3 separate regions of the Homo sapiens genome follow, and regions 2 and 3 are each linked to region 1. The links are contacts of gene promoters, found by promoter capture Hi-C in blood cells and fetal thymus (Javierre and others, 2016). All regions are on one chromosome and are shown on one strand. The core of a region is centred on a gene start or on the middle of the fragment in contact, and the rest is flanking DNA. Distances in the headings are between cores, read along the strand shown. Region 1 holds the start of HTR2A (5-hydroxytryptamine receptor 2A). Region 2 has its middle 110 kb from the start of CYSLTR2. Region 3 holds the start of SUCLA2 (succinate-CoA ligase ADP-forming subunit beta).

Region 1 (4,798 bases), core at 1,527-4,026:
GGGTCACCCCACCCTCCAGCCTCTGTTTTGGGTCCCGCTCTGTCACTCCTCCTACCCCCACTGGAGTTTGCCCCCTAGGGGAGGGGGTTTGGGAAGCGAGAATCTTCCCCGGGATGCCGGGGAAAGGGCAGGCAAATTAAATGAAATCATTCCGGTGTGGCATTTAAATGGTCAAGTGAAGGCTGGACTTGGAATGAGTGTTACTAGCTTTGTGCAAACTGGCGCCTGCTCGCCCTTGCGTACCGCCTTCCTCCTTCACATTCTCTAGGGCTGGGTTGATGTTTTTTAATCTTAGCCCCTAAGACTTGACCAGAAAATTTCCCTTTAAAGATAGCTATCATAACCTGTCTCTAAGCTCTGAGTGACTGCTGCTTGTGCCTGTGTCAGCAGTCACAATAGTCTCTCCTTTAAGGAGGTATCTGGCTGTATTACTCATAATTTGGAAAGAATATCACATTCTGGTCCCTTGCTGAGAGGTCTGACTGTTTCAAACTCTGTTGAGAAGAAAGCAAGATTAATCCCTTCCCATTTGTTTCCCACCCTCCTCCAAACCAGACTGGAGGAGTTTATGCATATGCATTTTCAAAGAGTTGAGGATATAATTCAAAGGCACATTTCCAAATTAGCTTCTCTGGGCAGGGAACAATTAAAACTGGAGTAATTCATTTATTCTAATTGAGGTTCTGCATATTTTAACATAAAACCTATTGCACCACTAATGTTCTCTCTGCAAATGTTCCAAAGTAATTGGGAAGGCTTTATCACTCCATTAAAAGTGCTGAAAACTGTGTGACAAAGATTAAAACTGTTCTGTCCTGAAGGCTGGAATATTGGTTGGGAATATAAAGAAGCAAAAATCAAGTAGATTCAGAATGATGGGTAAGTTATTGGTTTATGACTGTATGGGGTAATTTATAAAAATTTCTACATTAAATGTACATGTTTTGAAGCACAAAACTCTCCAATGATCATTTTTACACAGGATGTACGCGTTTTGAAGCACAAAACTCTCCAGTGATCACAGGTCATAGACTGTCTGATTTTTATGTGAAATCCCATTTTAAGAGTAAAATATAAGTAACATAGTAGGCTCTAGTCTATAAACAAAGACTTCTATTTATAGTTTGTTTGCCCCCTGAGCCCCATCTCATCTGCTGGTGGCATGCACATGCTCTTTATTACCAGTGCGAATATAGCTGGGAAACTAATGCCACTCACCATACAGGATGGTTAACATGGACACGGGCATGACAAGGAAACCCAGCAGCATATCAGCTATGGCAAGTGACATCAGGAAATAGTTGGTGGCATTCTGCAGCTTTTTCTCTAGGGACACTGCCATGATGACGAGTATGTTTCCAGCAATAGTTAGAATAATCACTACGGCTGTCAGTAAAGCAGACCAGTTTTTTTCCTGGAGATGAAGTAAGGAGAGACACGACGGTGAGAGGCACCCTTCACAGGAAAGGTTGGTTCGATTTTCAGAGTCGACTGTCCAGTTAAATGCATCAGAAGTGTTAGCTTCTCCGGAGTTAAAGTCATTACTGTAGAGCCTGGTGTCATCATTTAATTGCATTAGGGAGTTCGTAGTTGAGCTCAAAGAAGTATTTTCTTCACAAAGAATATCCATGTCTAAGCCAGAACTTGTAGCAGATGAGGTGTAGAAGGACTAACAGGTTATAGTTTCTGCTCACCATTCACCTTGATGTACCCACACTCTGTAACACTGAGGCTGGTGTACATGCTGTTCTCCCGGGGCTGGATTTTTGTCTTCCATTATTACAATGATAGTTAAAGAACTGAACTGTGGTGGCTGTAAGTTTTCTTCATTCACAATTTTAGGAGAGTCCACTGTTTGGTTTTATTATTTTCTCACCAAACCGAGGACAAAAAAGCAGAATGAACTTTTAGCATAGAGGTTGCAGGGTTTTTTTTGAGCGCTCGGGAAGATAAATGTCCTGGACAAAGAAGAAAAGTTTTATAACTACTGGGACTCTTGTTTAACTATATCTCATTTTGTTGGTTATGCCGATGGTACTAGTTTAGCAACAGTATTATTAAAATAGCATGCAATCAGAAACAGTGGGGATGTACACATTCTACATTAAGAAAGTCAATTAAAAATACATCCAGTGTTAATCCCATAGTAATTGGATGTACTTTGGGTTACAGTTCTCAGCCATTCTTAAGCTGAATTGCCACAGCTGCTGTCAGGAATTTCAGCTCCTATAATGTTGCTTAGCTAATAAAAGGAAAACAAAAAAGTCTTAAGTAAAGATTAGCAGACAACTTTCCTCCCTGGAAATTCTCATTGAAATGATTACATGTTGGCCAAGCATGATTTCAAACCGGAAAGAAAATTACACAGCAATAAAATATAGCGGCATGAGAACTTACATTTGTCTTCAGGGTCCACACATGAGATACATTTGTTATTCTGTGACTCGCTGCATCTCTCACAGTAATTAAACTGGTGTAGAGTCCCCTCTTCTTGATCTTCCACCAGCATAATATGATAGTAATTTGGTTTCTGTTTTGCTGACTTCAAAAACTGCATGCAAGAGCTGAGCCAGCTCCCGCACTGCTAGGATCCTGTTGGCTTCCTCTGGCACGGCTCGGCTGGGTTCCTCCCTCCCTGTGCGGCTCGCCTCAGCAGGCACACATTTAGAAATCATTCACGAGCCCCTCAAAGTCGCACAAAAGAACTGCATGGGAAAGTAGGAAGAGCTGTCTGCACCAAGGGACTCCTGGTTTCCACGGGAATGGAGTAGCTCTCTGACTGTCTCGTTCATTTCATCAGACCTCCCTCTATGTGTATGTCATAAGCTGCAAGGTAGCAACAGCCAGGAGGGCGGACCAAACAGGCTTTTTCTTCTCCCTCTTTTTGCTACATATTAATATTGGGAAGTTTTCCTTTGCTTTTGAGAGAAACTGGAGAAATGGCCTTTTGTGCAGATTCCCATTAAGGTAGGTAAGTGGCACTGTGGTAATTTTTTAGGCTGAAGGGTGAAGAGAGAACATAAATAAGGCTAGAAAACAGTATGTCCTCGGAGTGCTGTGAGTGTCCGGCACTTCCATCCAAAGCCAACAGTGTTTGTGTCCAGAGTGGAATTACTGACATTGGCCACATAGGCTCAGGGTGGCTAGGCACGTCTGTGGTGATAACTCTGATAAACTATTAGCACTATTTTTATTTAATAGATACACCATTGAACTGGCTTATTTTCTTCAGCAGAAATATGCCACCCAGATATTATTCAAAACCTCACATGTGGTAGGAAATAAGTTGGTTTCGCAGTACCAATTTTTTTCCCCCACCAGTAATGACAACTTGCCTTACTTGTAAAGAAAGCCCTTTCCCAAGTAGGTTTCTAAAGGAGGCAGTTCGATCTCTCTCTTTTTGCAGGCATGAAAATATTTTCCTCAATAGTTGGGTTTTGCTACAGTTCTATCACCTTCTGTTCTTCACATTCTCCCTGGACAAATTCAACCACTCTCATGCCTTCAATATGTTTGTGGCCAAGTCTGTACCTTCATAGCTGATTATTTCTCTCAGTTCCAGACCTAAATCTCTAGCTGCCCATTGGCTCCTTCCATGGTAGCCTGGGAGACCTTGACCTCAGCATCTTCCCTCACTCCGCATCCCCCTGCCCGGCTCTCAGTGCTTGTTCCTACCCATTGGCTTGCATGATGGAATCACCACCTCTTCAGACAGCTGCTGTTATCCGCGACTCTTCCTTCATTCTCGCTGCCAGATCCCACTTCGTCTCCGGTGCTACCTCTGTATGCGTGTTTCTCACATGTCCTCTCCTGCAGCCTGCAGCTGGCACCCTGTGGTCGAGATCTAGCCACCTATTTCCTGGGTGGGTGCCTTAGTGCCCCCCTCACTGCCATGCCTGCCACCCTCCTACCCCTCCACGTTAAATATGCACGCTGGCGAGCAGGCAGCGGAGAACACAGACCTTAGAGTTCCTTGGTTTTGGATCCTAGCTCTATCACTCATAAACAGTAGAACCTCGCCTCATCTAGTTGCTCCCTTTAAAGCTCAGTCTTCTCACTTGTAAAATGGGATAATACCTTCCTCATAAGATTGTAGTGAAGCTAAACTGAGATAATGTGTGTAAGTATTTGGCCCATGTCTGGCTTATAGGAGGTTCTCAAGTAATGTCAGCCACTTTCATTCCTATTGATATTCTTACTGATATTAATGACACAATTGGCATCACTCCCATGCCTACACTCCTGCAGTCCCTTCCTTGTGGGGCACATAACACTTTTCTTCATCTACCTGTACCCTGCTTGCCCCACTTTGCAGGCCTGGACTCTGGTTACTCTCCCAGTCAGCCTGTATGCAGACTGAACTTACATGTTTCTGACCATTTTTATGTCTCTGTACTTGTACTTCCCTGTGCCCGGAGTGCTCTTACCATTCCTTTTTTGTGTGTGTCCATCTGGCAAATTCGTGCTTAGTTCCAGAGCAGCTCTGGATCCCAGGCCTACCACTCACCACATCTGTAAGCGTGATTAAGCTACCTAATCTCTGTGTTTTAGTCTCCTCATCCGCAAGTAGGGAACATTAATAATAAAAAGACCTCAGGATTGACGTGAAAGCCAAATAAATTTACATATTTGCCTGGCACATTTTAAGCACTCAATAAAGGTTAGTTGCTATTATTCTTACTAAGTTTACTGTTCCTAAGCTTTCTGTAGCCCTCCTTCCCAGTGGAGGCAAAGACTATAGCACCTTCTGCAGCCTTCTATTTTTAACACATCATGTCTCATGTAAGCCTCATAAAGG
Region 2 (4,798 bases), core at 1,129-3,628, 1.9 Mb after region 1:
TCCCCGTTTTTGGAAGTCATTTGAGCAGGTCTCTGTTGCAACCAGTAGATCCTTATGCATCACTCTTCCCAAAGGGACTTTGACACTTCTGTGTGTAAGATTTTCCCCGGAGCCTGAAAGCTTAAAGAGATAAATAACTCCTCCTTTCTCAGGCCCAGTCCCAAGCCGCAAGGCTACTTTTGCCAGTAGCGTGCCCCAGCAAGATAGCAGAAGCAGGAAAAGAGCCGCTGGAAGACACTTACCCAGGTGGAAAGACACGTACACCTGAAGATCGAAAAAGAGGCCATCCGGGTACAACGTAGCAGTTACTTCAGACTAGGACACTTCCTGTTTACAGGAGACTCTAAAGCCTTTGCCCTGTCCTCACTTGGGGCTGAGGCCTAGTCAGCCCCCCTGCACCCAGGCGCTCATTAAAACAGCATGTTACCCCACACCGCCTCGTGTTATCTTTTGGCGTGCTCTTGGGGTTCAAACCGATACAAGAACCTTACACTGTGGTGTTCTGGATGGTAGGATATGATCTATGACAGTCTTTTAATTGACTGGCTGTCATAATTCTTATCTAGCAAACTCTCCTGCATTTTGTCTGACATTGTAAATAGTGAGGTAAATAGTGAGGTACATTACTGGCCAATTTCATGTGCTATTTGAATACCTTTTTGCATGAAAATAAGAATTATGTAAAACAGAATCTTGTTTCTGTTCATCCTTCCTGCCCCATTCCCTTTGGTGCTTCTGTGGATGGGATGAGTCATTCTCGGCTACAACTGGACCAGAGAGTTTATTTTAAAATACACGACAAAAGTTGATTGTGCATTTTTTCTTCTGGCATTTCTTCATATTGGTTTCAGCCTGCTCATTTTCTACCATGTTTTTTTCCCTCTGCCTGGATATAAACTTTCCTGTTCCAGCAGCTGCTGGCAGATGCCTATAGTTTATAAAATAGTACAAAAGATGTAAGAACTATATCTGAGAATGGCCACTTTTAATGACAAATTAATTTGTGCTCTGGATAATTTTTTTTATTAAATGGGCACAGAGGAACAGGCTTTTCTGCCCACTAGGTGACTTACTCCTCTGTTTGCTGGAAGAATCATTGATCATCTGCTGTTATTAGCAGTATCCACCTAACCCAGCACCTGAGTACAACTTTTAGAAATGAGGTTAAATAATCTGATTCCGGAGAGACAAATCGTTTAGGGTCAATAGTGACAGATAGGACCTATTTTAATCTGATTCCAGAGAGACAAATTGTTTAGGATCAATAGTGACAGATAGGACCTATTTCCAGCCAGAAACCACAATTGTGATTTCCTCAGTACTCCCTTGAAAAAGTAACAAAGAGCAAACATGAACTAAGCATTTTCCAGACAGATTTGTAGAGCTGGGGTTATTTACAGCGTTCCAAGTTCCAGTCTGCAATGAACATTAATAATTCTTGATTTCTTTAGTGAGTCCAGTGCCCTTCTTTAGTGAGTCCAATGTCCATTTGAACCACAGGAGATGTCAGCCACAGGAGAGACTGTAAGAATGTCGGGCCAAATATTTTAGAGATGAAAGATTAATGCTCACCAGTGTTAGAACACTCCCAGCTCTTTCTATCTTTGCTTTTCCACCTGCTCTTCTTCCCTGCCTGGTGAACTCATCCTCATCCTTCAAGGTCCAGCTCAAGAGATACTTCTGTGAAGGTTCCTCTGACTTCTCATATCGGGAGATGAGAGCCCTGGACATAATGTTATTGTGTTTATTGTTCTCTTGAGGTCACTTAGCCATGGCCTAGCTTTCTCACTAGACTAAAAACCCCTTAAGGTGAGACTGTCTCTCTTATTTGTCCCTCTCTCACAGCCTATAGAAGTTCCTGATGACACATAGCTTGTACTCAATCAATAGATGGTGAATTCAGAAGCCTATGTAAATAACACTGGGGGGATAGACAGGAATCAGCATTTCTTAAGGATGCCCCATGTGTCCAGCACTTGCACATATTATCTCATTAAATCTTCTCAACAACCTTCCAAGATAAATATAAATATGATTATTGGGACTCAGAAGTAGTAAGGATCTTAATAAGACCCTTAGGTAATAAGAGACAGGGCTGAAAGTCAAACCTGGATCTCTTTGACTCCCAATCACATTCTCTCTCCACTCCACGGTAAGCTGAGTTACCTTAAAAGCTTCCTGTAAAAAAGAACAATATATTCATTTGCCTTAAATAGAACATGCTAACGAGCACAAATCACTTCATTTGGAAATTGCCATTCTGAAGATATTAACTTAATTTTAGTCTCTCATATGCAAAACTTTTGAAGAGTGTAAGTATCCTTAAGTGCACAGGGAAGTGGTTCTTTCAGGAAAAATTTGAGTATGGCCCATGCACATATTCAGTGTCATCATTAAATTAAAAGTATTAAGTGGTTTCATTACATAGGAATCCATGTCATGGTAAGTTTCTTTCAGAGGACCAGTTTAGAAATGCAGCCCAGGATGTGTCAGTACCTCTCAAAAGGAGAAACATCCTACAGTAATAATAACAAAGTGATCTCAACCTAGCAAAGATTATAATAGAATAGCCCCATTTATAGATAAGCTTAGATCTTAGAGAAGGAAGGTGAGGAGGAGTAGGAGTCACCTTTCATCAGCACTTACTATATGCCAGGGACTGTGCTAAGTATTACTGGCCTCAGCTCGATTCCCTGCAAGAACTCCATGACATAGACACTTATCCTCATTTTGAGTATAAAGAAGCAGGGGTTTAGGGAGGTTAAATGACTTCTCTTAGTCCCACTGCTTGTAAATGACTCTTGCAGTCTTAGACTGACACCAAAATTTAAGCTTCTCTACTAACACCAAAAGACAGTAAAAATAGTGGGGGTGTTAACTGTGACAGCCCTTTTAAAATACATTGTCAGCATCTATGAAAATTTAAATGTGCATACCCTACAACTCAAAAATTCTACTTCTTAGTGTTAGCTCAAGAAAAATTCTTGCACATGTGTACAAAATTGTTTGTGATAGCAGAAAACTGGAAACAATTTTTAGGTTTATGTCCTTCCAAAGGAAAATCACTTTAAAAAGTGATACTGTATCCATGCTATGGAATAATGCATACCTGTCAAGTTCTCAAAGACATAATGTTGCTGTAGAGGTAGCAGATGGTAGTATGATACAATAAAATACTACACAAAATCCACATCTTAAAACATTAGCATATATGCATATATGTATATTTGCAAAATTGATGGAAAGAGAATGGAAGGATACAGACCAATCTAATAGCAGTGGTTACCTTCATTGTTGGGGTAGGAAATGGACCAGGATTGCAGGGAGTGGGCAAAGGGAATTTGAGCCTTATTTGTAATGCAAAATGAATGCTTCCTTCCTCCTTTTCTCCCTCTCTTCTTCCTGGTTCAGTTTCAAACCTCATTCTACCATGAGCATATCTGATTGGCAGACTCTAACCCATATCCAGAAGCCTAACTACAAGGAAGTCTGGAAATGTCAGTTTTAGCTTTCTACCCTCCCCTTGCTATCATAGAAAAGGGTTGGGCTGCATGCTGAGCTCTCAATACACACAATAATAATTCAGGCAATAAATACTTTGGCCAAATTTCCAAATAAAATCAGGTTAAAGGAAAATGATAGAATTGTGAATCACATGGATTTTTATATAACTTCTTTCTCTATGAAGTCAACTATAATCTGAAACTGCAATGGTATAAGCACACAAGAGAAAGAAGCCATGCAAAAGATCTTGAACTTTTATGAACTCTGACATTTCTGTTATCCTCCCCAGGGTGCTACTCCTCTATCTAACCTGTTGAAAGACAGCCCCATGAAAGAAGCATCTATTTGGTGCTATTATAAGTGAATTGTTTTCATAATTCATTTAAGTTATTTAAAAATGTATCTAGAAATGCAACTGATTTTTGTGCATCAGCTTTGTATCCTGCCACTTTCTTGAAATCGTTTATTAGCCCTAGCAGTTTTTTGGTGGAATCTTTTGGGATTTCTACAGATAAAATTATATCATCTGTGAATAGATCATGTGACTTCTTCCTTCCAATTTGTATGCCTTCAGTTTAATTTAATTTTTGTCTAATTGCTCTGACTAGAACTCCCAGTATTATGTTGAATAGTAATGGTGAGAGTGGGTATCCTTGTCTTATTCTTTATCTTAGATGAAAAGCCTTCAGTCTTTTCCTATTGAGTATGATGGTCTACAGCCATACCACCCTGAACATGCCTGACCTCATCTGATCTCAGAAGCTAAGAAAGGTCGGGCCTGGTTAGTACTTGGATGGGAGTATAATGTTAGCTGTGGGCTTTTCATATATGGATTTTATTATATTGTTTATTATATATATTGAAGGTAGTTTTCTTCTCTTCCTAGTTTGTTCAGTGTTATTATCATAAAAGGGCATTGAATTTTGTCAAATGCTTTTTCTGAATTGATTGAGATGATAATGTGATTTTGTCCTTCAATTTGTTAATGTGGTATATTTCATTGATTGATTTTTATATGGTGAACCATCCTTGCATTCCAGGTATAAGTGCCACTTAGTCATGGTGCATGACCCTTTTAATGTGCTGTTGAATTCAGTTTACCGGTATTTCTTTGAGGATTTTTGCACTGATATTCATCAAGAATGTTAGTCTGTAATTTTCTTTTCTTGTTTTTAATATCTTTGTCCACGGTGTCAGAGTAATATTAGCCTAATATAATGAGTTTGGAAGTGTTACCTCCTCTTCAATTCTTTAGAAGAGTTTGAGAAGGATTGATAAGTTTTAAAGAATGTAT
Region 3 (4,798 bases), core at 1,517-4,016, 1.1 Mb after region 1:
ATCAACAGGAGAATGGATAAACTGTGGTATATGTATATAATAGTATACTACAGAGAAATAAAAAGAAAAAAAGTACTATGGCTCACACATCGATGGATTAATCTCACAAACATAATGTAGAGAGAAAGAAGCCAGAAACAAGAATATATACTTACATGATTTATTTTTATAGCGTTCAAAACCAGTCAAAATTAGCCTATGGTGACAGAAGTCATAATTGGTTGCTACCTTCTGTCAGGGAGTATTGATAAGAGAGAGGACATGAGAGCCTTCTGAGGGCTGGAAACATTGTATATCTTGATGCAGACGATGGTTACACAGGTGAATACATACATAAAAATTAATCTAGCTATCCACTTAAGCTGTACATCTTACTGTACATAAATTATACGTCAAAATAATAATAAAAATTAGTGGGTAGGGGAGTAACTAGCATAAGCCTGGCAAAAAGTCATACACTCAAATATTTTTTGTGATGACTATGAACTAGACAGTGGGCTAGGGACACTAAAAAAATAAAGACACTTGGGTCCCAGCCACAGAGTTCACAGGCATGTAAATAAACAACTGCAACACATATAAGAGCACTAGGTCACTAGCACATAAGTCACTAGGTGGCACCTAATTGGTTAGTTGGTCAGAGAAAATGTCACAAGGTCTCATCCCAGTTTAAATTTTTAAAAAATCTAATGTCTATAAAGAACACTTTGGGGACAACTAGAAAAATCTGAATCTAAACTATATATATTCATGTTACAGCAATGTTGAATTCCTAAGTATGATCACTGCGGTTATTTGGAAGAATGTCCTTATTCTTAAAGACATATGCTGAAATATCTATTTTCAACGAAGGTACACTAGGCTAAAGATACCAAGAAATTGGAGGAGGGTCAGAGAACTTAAACAAATGTTTAAAACAGGCCGGGTGCGGTGGCTCAAGCTTGTAATCCCAGCACTTTAGGAGGCCGAGGCGGGAGGATCACGAGGTCAGGAGATCGAGACCGTCCTGGCTAACACGGTGAAACCCCGTCTTTACTAAAAATACAAAAAATTAGCCGGACGTGGTGGCAGGCGCCTGCAGTCCCAGCTACTAGGGAGGCTGAGGCAGGAGAATGGCATGAACCCGGGAGGCGGAGCTTGCAGTGAGCCAAGATCGCGCCACTGCACTCCAGCCTGGGCGACAGAGCAAGACTCCGTCTCAAGGAAAAAAAAAAAAAAATGTGGAAAACAAATTGCTAAATTAAATGTGTGACCTTGAACGAGTTTCTTAAGACTCCGTACTTCTATGTCCTCATCTACAAAAGCAAAGGGTTGGACTAAGGTCCTTCCAAACTCTAGAGCTGCATTTCTTAATACCAGGGTAGAAGACAGCAACTGTTATAAAGAAAATAATATTGGAAATTTCCATAAGGAGAAATGAAGGCTTTTAAATGAACTTCCAAAAAGATAAAGATTTTGACTAGAATGAAAACGTATTTGTCACTAAATTCCCCATTTTCTAAAAACTAAATAGCACTCTTCTAAGATTCATAAGAAGGAAGTTCAAGGTCAAAAAGTCACTTCTATCGGGAAGCAAACTCACAGAACTCACTACCCCTAGGCTGAAAGTATGAACAACTTCAATAAAAATGAAAAAAAAAAAAAAAGGTAGGGGCGGGAGGGCCCTAAATCAATTCATACTATGACATGTATGAAGAGTTACTTCAGAAAAAAACCCAAAACTCTGGAATTGACTTAGGACACCAATAATGCCCTTCCACAGTTTTTTGTTGTCAAAGTTGGAAGGAAGATGTTTGTTTTCGAAGTTGTGGAGCCAACTCAAGTACACGGCTTTAGAACCAGACACCTCTGGGATTAAATCTCAGCTTTGATCTTACCTCCTATATGACCTAGTCCAAATTACTTGTTCTCTTAACCATAATATGTTCAACAATGATGCAGGTGTTGAATGACTTCCTCACAGTTGCTGAAAAACCTGAGAAACTACACGTAAAGCGCTTAGCACATTACCTGGCACACATCAAATATTCAAAACAAGGCCAGTAACTATTATGCTATAGCCTATCCAGAAATAAGGCTATACAAAAGATTATTTTCTTACCTCTCCAACTGGTTAGGTAGAAAACATAATCTTATTACTGCTATTAACAAGTAGAACAGTATACAACTACTTGGAGGAGAGGGGAAACTTCCCTACCTTGCCCCACAAAAGGCAAGTCAGTAAGCACCGCTGGTCCTCTGACATTCCCACCTATGACAGCTCCCAAGAAACACAAAAGTACTTTTGAAGGGCATTCCCCCCTGCCCAAAAAGGGGCGGCGCAAGTCTCAGCCCACCGTGCCAGACGCCGGAATGGCAGCAGAAAATGTCCTGACCCCCTCACCTCCACTCAGAGCCCACCTGCTCCCGCCCATCTCTTAGAAACTGCAGGAGCAGCCACGGCCGGGCCGCCGGGGATCCTCGCGGACTAAGGGCTGGGTCAGAGCCGCGCAAACATGGGCTCGCTCGTAGTCCTGGCGAGCAGCACTCCCAGGCAAGTCGCCCGAGGGCCTTGCAGGGCACCCAGAAAATGTCACTGCCGGCGAAGTGACCCCGAGCCGGGCCACGGGACCCCTCACACCTCACCCTTTCTCCTGCCGACCCTCGAGACGACAGCGGACTGGAAGGCATTACCTGAGCAGCAGCCCGCTGGGCCGTCCGAGGCCGGTGGTTCCGAAGGGTGGCCACGGCCACTAGCCTGCCGTAGAACATGGAGGCCGCCATTTCTGAGTCGGACCCCGTCCCCTCGGCGCCGCGCGCAGGCGCACAGGCGACAGGCGGCCCAAGGCGCAGCCTCTCTGCAGCGCTCACCTACGCCCCGCCTCGCGCCACCCGTTGGGGGCGGGGCCTCGGGTTAACACTGCAGCCGCTAGACCAGCTCCCTGGCGGGCGCGGAGCAAGCTTTGACCTTTGGAACTGGGCACCGCAGCCCCAATATCTGCCCTGCGGTCAGAGCAACCTGAACACTTCCTAGTGAATTGCAATGTAAAGGTGACCAGCGCCGCCACTTGGGTGATCTTAACTTCTCTCAGCCTCAGTTGCCTCATCTGTAAAATGTGTTTCATTCAAGAAATGATTACCCAGTGTCTACTTCGTGCTAAACAGCCTTGAGCCCTTGGCCTACAGCAATGAATAAAACCATTTGTGATGCTCAAAGAGAAGATGGTCGGTGTAACGCGCTTGTGATGCTCAAAGAGAAGATGGTCGGTGTCATGCGCTTCTGATGCTCAAAGAGATCGGTGTCACGCGCATCCGTGTGAAGACACCGCCAAACAGGGTGTGAGCAATAAGGCTGTTTATTTTAACTGGGTGCAGGCGGGCTGAGTCCGAAAAGAGAGTCAGCAAAGGGAGATAGGGGTGGGGCTGTTTTATAGGATTTGGATGGGTAGCGGAAAATTACAAAGGGGGTTTTTCTCTTACGGGCAGGGGCGGGGGTCACAAGGTGCTCAGTGGGGGAGGTTCTGAGCCAGGAGAAGGAATTTCACAAGGTTAATCACTCAGTTAAGGTGGGGCAGGAACAAATCACAATGGTGGAATGTCATCAGTTAAGGCAGGAACCGGCCAATTTCCCTTCTTTTGTGATTCTTCACTTGCTTCAGGCCATCTGGATGTACACGTGCAGGCTTGGGCTCAGAGGCCTGACAGTCGGCCACTAGTTACCAAAGCTGGTGGCAGGCTGGAGTCTCCAGGGAAGCTATTGATTGATTGATTGACTGATTGACAGGGTCTTGGTCTGTCACCCAGGCTGGAGTGCAGTGACGCGATCACAGCTCACTGCAGCCTCAACCTCCCATGCTCAAGGGATCCTCCCACCTCAGCCTCTGGAGTAGTTTGGGACCACAGATGTGTGTCACCAGGCTTGGTTGATTTTTTTATTTTATTTTTTTAGGGACAGAATCTCTCTATGTTGCCCAGGCTGGTCTCCAACTCGTGGGTTCAAGCGATCCTCCTGCCTCAGTCTCCCAAAGTGCTGGGATGACAGGTGTGGGCAACCACACCCAGCCAAGGATCTGGTTTTTGAAAAGATAAATAAATTTAACAAACCTCCAGCAAGACTGCAAAGAAAAAAGAAAAAGAGAAGACACAAATTACCAATGTGAGGAACATACCAGGGAATATAATTACAGAACCTTCAGACACCAAAAAGGAATGCCATAAATAACACCACATAACATAAATTTGACAACTTTGACAAGATGAGCGAATTCTTCAGAAGGCACAAATTACTACAAATAACCTAATATGAAAAGGTAATTTAAATAGTCCTCTAACTAGAGAAAATTGTAATTGTAATTTTTAAACTAAAAAAAAAAAAAACCTGAGATCTCCAGGCCCAAAAGCTTTCACTGATGAATTCTATAAAATGTTTACACAAGAATTAACACCAATTCCATACAGCCTCTTCCAGAAGATAGAAGAGGAAGGAACAGTTGCCAATGTACTGTATGAAGTTAGAATCACCCCACTACCAAAGCCAGCAAAAGACCGTACAAAAAGAAAAAAATACCAACACTTCTCATGAATATTGATGGAAAAATCCATAGCAAAATATTAGCAAATATAATTCAGAAATATATAAAAAGAATTGTACAATATGACCAAGTGGGATATATTCCAGAGATGTAAGTTTGTTTTAATATTTGAAAATATGTGTAATGCACTATATTAAGTTAGAAAAATCACATGATAATTTCGATCAAAACAAAAAAAGTAGCTGGGCACAATGGTTCATGCCTGTAATCCAAACACTTTGGGAGGC

Evidence for each region. The method cuts DNA at HindIII sites, captures the fragments that hold promoters and counts their contacts. A CHiCAGO score of 5 or more calls a contact.
Region 2: a fragment that was not itself captured here is called in contact with the fragment with the promoter of HTR2A in region 1 in 1 of 17 cell types (fetal thymus); the score reaches 6.2 in fetal thymus.
Region 3: the fragment with the promoter of SUCLA2 here is called in contact with the fragment with the promoter of HTR2A in region 1 in 1 of 17 cell types (megakaryocytes); the score reaches 7.1 in megakaryocytes.

The regions. Positions count from the first base shown.
Region 1 is chr13:46,894,277-46,899,074 of GRCh38, forward strand. It overlaps HTR2A (5-hydroxytryptamine receptor 2A), which reads right to left and starts at 2,777. Exons shown (of 4, transcript NM_000621.5): 1 at 2,398-2,777; 2 at 1,219-1,958. The coding sequence starts at 1,630. RefSeq lists a silencer at 1-87. The HindIII fragment of the contact is 5,377 bases long and covers 1-4,698 here.
Region 2 is chr13:48,760,677-48,765,474 of GRCh38, forward strand. No RefSeq gene overlaps it. Among named protein-coding and RNA genes, the nearest start is that of CYSLTR2, 110 kb to the left of the region's middle. The HindIII fragment of the contact is 413 bases long and covers 2,173-2,585 here.
Region 3 is chr13:47,998,507-48,003,304 of GRCh38, forward strand. It overlaps SUCLA2 (succinate-CoA ligase ADP-forming subunit beta), which reads right to left and starts at 2,767. Exons shown (of 11, transcript NM_003850.3): 1 at 2,674-2,767. The coding sequence starts at 2,763. SUCLA2-AS1 (SUCLA2 antisense RNA 1) reads left to right here and starts at 2,899. Exons shown (of 2, transcript NR_189308.1): 1 at 2,899-3,316; 2 at 3,929-4,185. RefSeq lists enhancers at 2,402-2,451, 2,472-2,521, 2,542-2,731, 3,108-4,307 and a silencer at 2,852-2,961. The HindIII fragment of the contact is 2,000 bases long and covers 939-2,938 here.